2 separate regions of the Homo sapiens genome follow, and region 1 is linked to region 2. The links are contacts of gene promoters, found by promoter capture Hi-C in human tissues and cell types (Jung and others, 2019). All regions are on one chromosome and are shown on one strand. The core of a region is centred on a gene start or on the middle of the fragment in contact, and the rest is flanking DNA. Distances in the headings are between cores, read along the strand shown. Region 1 has its middle 11 kb from the start of CLEC4E. Region 2 holds the start of A2ML1 (alpha-2-macroglobulin like 1).

Region 1 (4,106 bases), core at 426-2,925, 290 kb before region 2:
TCCAATCCGTAAGTTACACAGTTCCGTGGAAAAAGCACAGTTTCCCTGGCTGGGTAGTGTGCTCACCGACTGCCTCCCTTGGCTCGGGGGAGGGGGTTCCCTTTCCCCCATGTGGCTCTCAGGTGGGCCGCTGCACCGCTCTGCTCTTTCTTCTCTCCGTGGGTCACACCAGCCTTCCAGTCAATTATGATGAGACAGCCTGGGTATCTTGGTTGCGGGTGAAGGATCCACTCACTTATTGCGGTTTTTTTCCGTGGGAGCCTCAAAACACCACTGACTGAGAGGTGGGGCATTTAAGAAGCAATCAGATAATGAGGGTTCTATCCTCATGAATGAATTAACTCCCAGTTATAGAATAGTGGATTAATGGGTTGATGTATTAATGGGTTATCATAGGCAGAAAACTGGTGGCATTATAAAAAGAGGAAGAGGGACCTGAGCTAGCATGTTAGCACACGCAGCACCCTCACTGTGTGATCCCTGTACCACCTTGAGGCTCTTTAGAGAGTCCCTACCAGCAAGAAGGCCCTCACCAGACACAGCTTTTTGACCTTGGACTTCTCAGCCTCCATCACTATAAGAAATAAATTTCTTTTCTTTATAAATTTCTAGTCTCAGATATCCTGTTATAAGCAGCAGAAAATGAACTAATACACATCCATAGTCTCTTTTAGTCTATTCTGAACTCTCATGGCACCTCATCACAATCTCTTCAAGACAAAGACAGTAATTTCATAAAAATAGGTTCTAATTATTTTAGTACATTATGGTAGTCCTAGAAGCTTAAAATTCTTAAAAATTTCAAGCAGTGTTTTCATTTTTGAAACAGTAATATATGTGTGTTAAAAAGGCAAACTGTAAAAACATTAGTAAACGTAGAAGATAAATAAATCTTCTAACCTGAACTCTAGTTACTGAAATGCCTCTTCAGAGTAACTATGATTATCAGTTTCTTATTTACATTTCCATAAATGGTTATACTATATGTACTACATATAAAGTGTATAAGAATATATACTATATATAAACTATGTACTATACATAATAAACATATAATTACATACATGTTATATACTAAACATATATAGATATATAATCCACATTTTAAATATGAATAGAAATATAATCTACATATTCTTAAACATTTGCATTTTTTACTTAACAATATAGTTTTGATTTATATCTTGTTCTTATAAGTGAATAGCATTTATATTGCATTGTTGCAACATAATTTGAAATAACCTTAAAATTACAAAATATTTTCTTTTTTAATAACACTTAGCAAAGTAATGGCTGTGAAGCAAATCACCAGAGCAATCTCCGTTCAGATTGGGAAAGGAAGGAAATTTTCCAAGGAAGATTTTTTTCCCTACAAAATTATGGGATAGATGGAATGCATTTGAATGAATTGAGAGGTGATATACATTTCTGAAGAGTTAAAAGGTGAATTATGTCAGTACGCAGAAAGCTAGATAAATATAAAAAAATGGGTCCTGTATGGTGGCTCAAGCTTGTAATCCCAGCACTTTGGGAGGCCAAGGTGGGAGGATTACTTGAGGCCAGCAGTTTGAGACCAGCCTGGGCAACAAAGTGAGACCCTGTCTCTACAAAAAATTAAAAAATTAGCTGTGTTTGGTGGTGTGCACCTGTAGTCCTAACTACTTGGGAAGCCGATATGGGAGGATTGCTTGAGCCCAGGAAGTCGAGGCTCCAATGAAGCCATGATTGTGCCACTGTACCCTGGCCTGGGGACGGAGTGAGATCCTGTCTCCAAAAAAAGAAAAGATGTCAATATTAACTCCATAAAAAGCAAAATGTAATTAAAAATATGTAGTAAGAATACAGCAAATGGTTCAGCTGTGAATAATATTTACATATTCATACCAGTGCAAATGTTGAATACTGATTTTTAAATAAATGATTATATAGTGATAGCAGGGGGATGGGAAAGAGAGAGAGAAAGAAGACTATTCTTGTTTTCATTAGTGTGGAGCTCATAGAAATTATCTAAAACTGAAAAAAATCAAGGAATTATAGTATAAACTTTTGATAGAAATAGAAACATGGAACTCAATAGAAAAGAAGCATCTAAACGGTTGAATACGATTGCCACTTAGGTGTGGGAATCAGAAGTGGGCAGGAAACAGCTATTTTTAATTACAATCCTCTAGAAGAATTTGTTTTTTTAAACAATGTGCATATATGTACATAGTGTGCAAATCTATTAATGTAATTAATCTTATCAACATTTTAAAAGAGCTGCTAAAGCATCATCTAGTAAAATCAATAAACCACTTAGTGTTAAAACATTTAACAAAGAAGAAATGAAAGGAATTTTCTGCAGGATGTCTACCCCAAACCTGTAGCAACTATTAGATTTAATGGTAAGCCATTAGAAGCATTTTCTTTAAGTTTAAGAACAAAACTATAGCAGCTTTATGCAACAATATGTTGGCATTCCTAGCCAGCTCAATATGACCAAAAGAACTGGAAGGGAGTTTTAAAAACCCACAACTATCATTATTTCTAGACCAGAACTGTCCCAGGGAAATATAGTGAAAGGCAAAAATGTGAGTTGCATATGTCTAAATTTTCCAGTAATTATATCAAGAAAGCAAAAAAAAAAAAAAAAGCCCGAAGAAGTGAAATTAATTCTAATAACTTATTTTATTTGAACAAACATATCTAGAATATTATCATTTTGACATGTAATCCATATAAAATTCTTAGTGACATATTTTATATTCTTTTTTCAAATTATCAAAAAAACTAGTGTGTATTTTACACTTACAGAATATCTCAATTAGGATAGTGCTTAATAGTCTACTGTGGCTGGTGGCTACTGTACTGGATAGCTCAGTGTTTTAGACAGTATAATTATCTACACAGAAAATAAAAGGGAATGTATGGACAAAATGTTTTAAAAAATTAGGAAAGTTAAACAGTGTTTCTGGATAAATTATTATTATACAAAAATCAACAATATAATACTCTGCAAAATGTACAAAATAATATTACACTTACAATGGCAATACAATTCTAAGATACCCAAGAGTAAACCGTGCGAAATTTTAAAGTTGGTTGCACGACATATATGCTGACCCGCTCAGGCTCTACCTCTCCATCCTGTGCTGAATGACCTGTGTGGACATCCACCTCACCCTGCCCGGTGCCCTGTGGCCCTCCTAGATAGTCCTCCTGCTTCGGCTCAGACACCTTTGCTCAACCACCCCCACGTATGGGCGTCCTCCTCACTCTAGCTCAGGCTTTGAGACTTTGGGACAGTCCAACCCCCACCAGGATGCCCTGCTGAACCCACTGGCGTTCTGACATCCTTACTGTCTCCTGCTTCCCCCACAATCTCCCCTTTACACTGTCTGGGATCTAACTCTCTGAGGGGTAGTCATGCGTCCCTCTCCCCCTCCCGCATATACATGCACACACGTATAAAGACCACCTTGCTCTGCTCCACCCACGTGCAATGATTTTAGGAGTCATTATCAGGAAACGGAAAGGTAGAAAAGGGGATTGGGAAACAGGAGAGCAAAAACATTTGACTTAATTGTTGATTGTTTATAATTTTTTGTTTGTTTTGTTTTGTTTTTTACTTCAGAGGGACCTTCTGGGAAATAACTCTTTTTCATAATCTATAAAGGCTGTAACATTCTTGAACTCAGTAATTCTTCAATTTCACTTCAATTTTTTAAACGTTTGAGGTAATGAATGTGCTAATTACCCTGATTTGATTAATATAGAGCATACACATGTATTGAAACATCGCATTGTATCCCACAAATGTGTACAATTATTATGTGTCAATCAAAACCAAAATAAAATTTAAAAAATTAAAGTATTATCTGTTGTATAATTCCTTTCTAAAAGTGTGTCAATGCATGTGTGTATGTGTGTATACATGTAAATATATATATATATTTGGGTTTTTTTAACTCTTTGTTTTTCCATCTTTTCATCTAACTCTTGAAGTCATAGGGGAGAAAAAGTAACATCTTTTTCTCACCAATTGCAAGGTTCATGGCTGAGGCCCTTATAACAAAACACAAATTAACAAGAGAAAACCATACAGATGTATTTAACGTAAGTTTTAC
Region 2 (3,628 bases), core at 317-2,816:
AGGATTTAAGTAATAATAAAACTCCAGTCTCCCACACAGCCGGCTCTGCGTGAATTACTCTTTTGCCATTGCAGTTCCCCTGTCTTGATAAATCGGCTCTGTCTAGGCAGCAAGCAAGGTGAATCCATTGGGTGGTTACAAAACGGGGTCTCACTATGTTGCCCAGGCTGGTCTCAAACTCTTGGGCTCAAGCAATCCTCCAGCTTCTGACTCCCAAAAGCTGGGATTATAGGCATGAGCCACTGCACTTAGACTAATTTATATTTTAGGTGACTTCTAAGTATTACCATCATAAAGAACACTGTGGGCTGGGCACGGTGGCTCATACCTGTAATCCCAGCACTTTGGGAGGCTGAGGTGGTCCCTGGAGCTCAGGAGTTCGAGACTAGCCTGGGCAACATGGTGAAACCCTGTCTCTATTAAAAATACAAAACAATTAGCCAGGAGTGTTGGTGCCTACCTGTGGTCCCAGCTACTCAGGAGGTGGAGGTGGGAGGATCGCTTGAGCCCAGGAGGTCAAAGCTGCAGTGGGCTGAGATTGTGCCACTGCACTCCAGCCTGGGTGATAAAGTGAGACTCTACTTCAAAAAAATAAAAAATAAAGAAAAGAAAAAAAAGAAAGAACAGTGTGAAAAAACTCAGTGTTACACTTGTGCATACATGCATGCTGTCCTTTTTTTCCTCATTAAGAAACATTTCCAGAGTAGGAGTTGCTGAGTGAAAGAATATGCAAATCTCAAAGGCTTTGGTGTGTATTACAAAATTGCCATGAGAAAGTTATCCACATTCTATTTTCTCTAGGACTGTGTGTGTCCCTATTTCCATACAGTCACAACAATACTGAGTAGTATTAATTTTTTTTTTTTTTGAGACAGAGTCTCGTTGTGTCACCCACGCTGGAGTAAAGTGGCATGATCTCGGCTCACTGCAACCTCCACCTCCCGGGTTCAAGCGATTCTCCTGCCTCAGCCTCCCAAGTAGCTGGGACTATAGGCACCCACCACTATGCCCAGCTGATTTTTTTTTCTTTGTATTTTTAGTAGAGACAGGGTTTCACTATGTTGGCCAGGCTGGTCTTGAACTCCTGACCTGGTGATCTGCCCACCTCAACCCCCCAAAGTGCTGGGATTACAGGCGTGAGCCACTGTGACCGGCCAAGTTTACTGCTTTTCTATTGAAACTGTTCTCATACCCGTGTTCCCAACTACACCTTAATTGAATAATAAAAGAAAATAAGGACATTAAATGAGAACAGGAATTGGAATGAGACCAGAAAAAAAGGGAGGAGTTCAAAATATGTTCTGAGAGCTTTACCATTATGAATACTCAGCTCTGGTTTTCCCCCAAAACTGGCTGAACCAGTATGGATGTTCCAGGCAGAAACAACTTTAAAGAAGTGAATAGTGGCCCTACCCTGGTCCACCACCTAACCTGGTGGTTACAGAAGGAGGAACACAGTCCTCCTGTGTTCCAGGTGCCAGGAGGTGACTGACTATAGCATCAGTCATCACTGCACACCCTACCTGGAATTAGTATATAAAGCTACGCGGAGCGATCTCTGCCCCTGACCCTGGAAAAATCTGTCTCACCCACAAAGATGTGGGCTCAGCTCCTTCTAGGAATGTTGGCCCTATCACCAGCCATTGCAGAAGAACTTCCGTGAGTGCTTGGTGTCAGAATTGGTTTATTAGGGCAGCGGCTTCTTCGCCTAACTTTCTCAAACATTTATATGGAGATGGGGAGATCAACTTTGGTTTATCTTAATTTCCTCCTCCTTTTTTCTCTTCTTTGGTTCCACTGATCCTTTACCCAGAGAGGGAGGCTGACGCATGAAGAGGAAGCTTTAAAAAAGATAAATATTAAAATGTGCCCTGTTTTCTGAAATAGGCCTAATTTCCTCCTTGGTGCTCTAGGCATGTGTGCTCGGTGAGGGCCTCCTGATGGCGGAAGTTGAAGACTGTGCACTGAGTCGTTGCCCCTCTGCTTCTTGTAGAAAATGAGGTGCATAAGGAAGGCAGGGGCTTGGTCTGTCTAATTCACTGCTACTTGCTGAGCGCTTAGGAGAGTGCTGGATTTTTCGAGTGAATGAATCATTATTGCCCTGAAATCCTTCTGCTCCTTTAATAGAAACTACCTGGTGACATTACCAGCCCGGCTAAATTTCCCCTCCGTTCAGAAGGTTTGTTTGGACCTGAGCCCTGGGTACAGTGATGTTAAATTCACGGTTACTCTGGAGACCAAGGACAAGACCCAGAAGTTGCTAGAATACTCTGGACTGAAGAAGAGGCACTTACATTGTATCTCCTTTCTTGTAAGCACAGACTCAGCCCTCACTCGAATCCCTTACTTGCCTATTCTCCTCCCTAGGCTCACTATAATCTACTTTAAGTATAATTTCTGTTATCTTTTGCCACGGCCTCTAAACCTATTTTTTCTCAACTTAACCTCAATCCCCGGCTATAACTCACCCACGGTTTCCTCGACCTAGGATTTCTCCCTTTAGTTCCTGACCTTAATTCTTCCTCGTGGTAATTTGTTTTATGTCTCTATCCTTGCTACCCCCATCTAACTCAGCTCTTTCCTTTAACTCACTGTTGGGTTGAGACCAGTTGATTCTGTTCCCCCAATCCCTTACCCCTCCCCAGAAGTCCCCTTTCTTGGTCAGGTACCACCTCCTGCTGGTGGCACAGAAGAAGTGGCCACAATCCGGGTGTCGGGAGTTGGAAATAACATCAGCTTTGAGGAGAAGAAAAAGGTTCTAATTCAGAGGCAGGGGAACGGCACCTTTGTACAGACTGACAAACCTCTCTACACCCCAGGGCAGCAAGGTAAGAGTCACATATTTGGGGTTCGACTAAAACCTGGGGAAACCGCTGTGCACAGGGGTAAAGAGGGGATTTGTGGTTTGACAGTAGGCTTTGGAAAAAAAGGAGTGCAGAGGAGAGGAAAATCTGGGGGGATTAAGTAGTGCAAGTGTTGAATACATGCTGCGCTACACAAGCAAGAGAAGTAGGTGGGGGTTGCTACTGAGTTTGTGTATCTAAAACAAAAGTACACATTTCTTCTGGAATAGAATTTGGCAAGTATAACTGGGTTGCTGGGCCTTACAACAAACTGCTTGTAAATGGCTAAGAAAGCACTGAGGGCATTTGGCTTGAGCTACTGGGGTTTTTTTTTTTTTTTTTTTTTTTTTTTGTATTTGTTCATTCGTCCTTACAGGGGCACTTCATTCTGAGATTTCAAAGTCAGGCACCCTGAAAAGAAACTATGTTTGGGTTTTTTTTATTTTTTTATTTAAAATTTTTGTGGGTACATAGCTGGTGTATATATATTTATGGGGTAGATGAGATATTTTTATACACACACACAATGTGTAATCATTACATCAGGGTACATGTGTATCCATCACCTCAAGCATTTATCATTTCCTTGTATTACAAACAATCCAATTATACTCTCTTAGTAATTTTTAAATGTGCAATAAATTATTGTTGACTGTAGTCACTCTTTGTGCTAAAAACTACAAGATCCCTAGATCTTATTCATTCTAGCTAAATATATTTTTGTACCCATTAACCATTCCCACCCCACCCCTCATCCTGCCCACCATTACCCTTCCCAGCATCTG

What was found. Contacts are between HindIII fragments. The study calls those that stand out against the background at their distance.
Region 1: a fragment that was not itself captured here is called in contact with the fragment with the promoter of A2ML1 in region 2 in 2 of the 25 tissues and cell types used here (H1 embryonic stem cells and mesendoderm cells).

The regions. Positions count from the first base shown.
Region 1 is chr12:8,527,844-8,531,949 of GRCh38, forward strand. It overlaps a transcript of CLEC4D not described here. Among named protein-coding and RNA genes, the nearest start is that of CLEC4E, 11 kb to the right of the region's middle. The HindIII fragment of the contact is 4,465 bases long and covers 1-3,908 here.
Region 2 is chr12:8,821,055-8,824,682 of GRCh38, forward strand. It overlaps A2ML1 (alpha-2-macroglobulin like 1), which reads left to right and starts at 1,567. Exons shown (of 36, transcript NM_144670.6): 1 at 1,567-1,659; 2 at 2,128-2,311; 3 at 2,666-2,828. The coding sequence starts at 1,598. All of the region lies in intron 1 of A2ML1-AS1 (A2ML1 antisense RNA 1), which reads right to left. The HindIII fragment of the contact is 7,738 bases long and covers 1-3,185 here.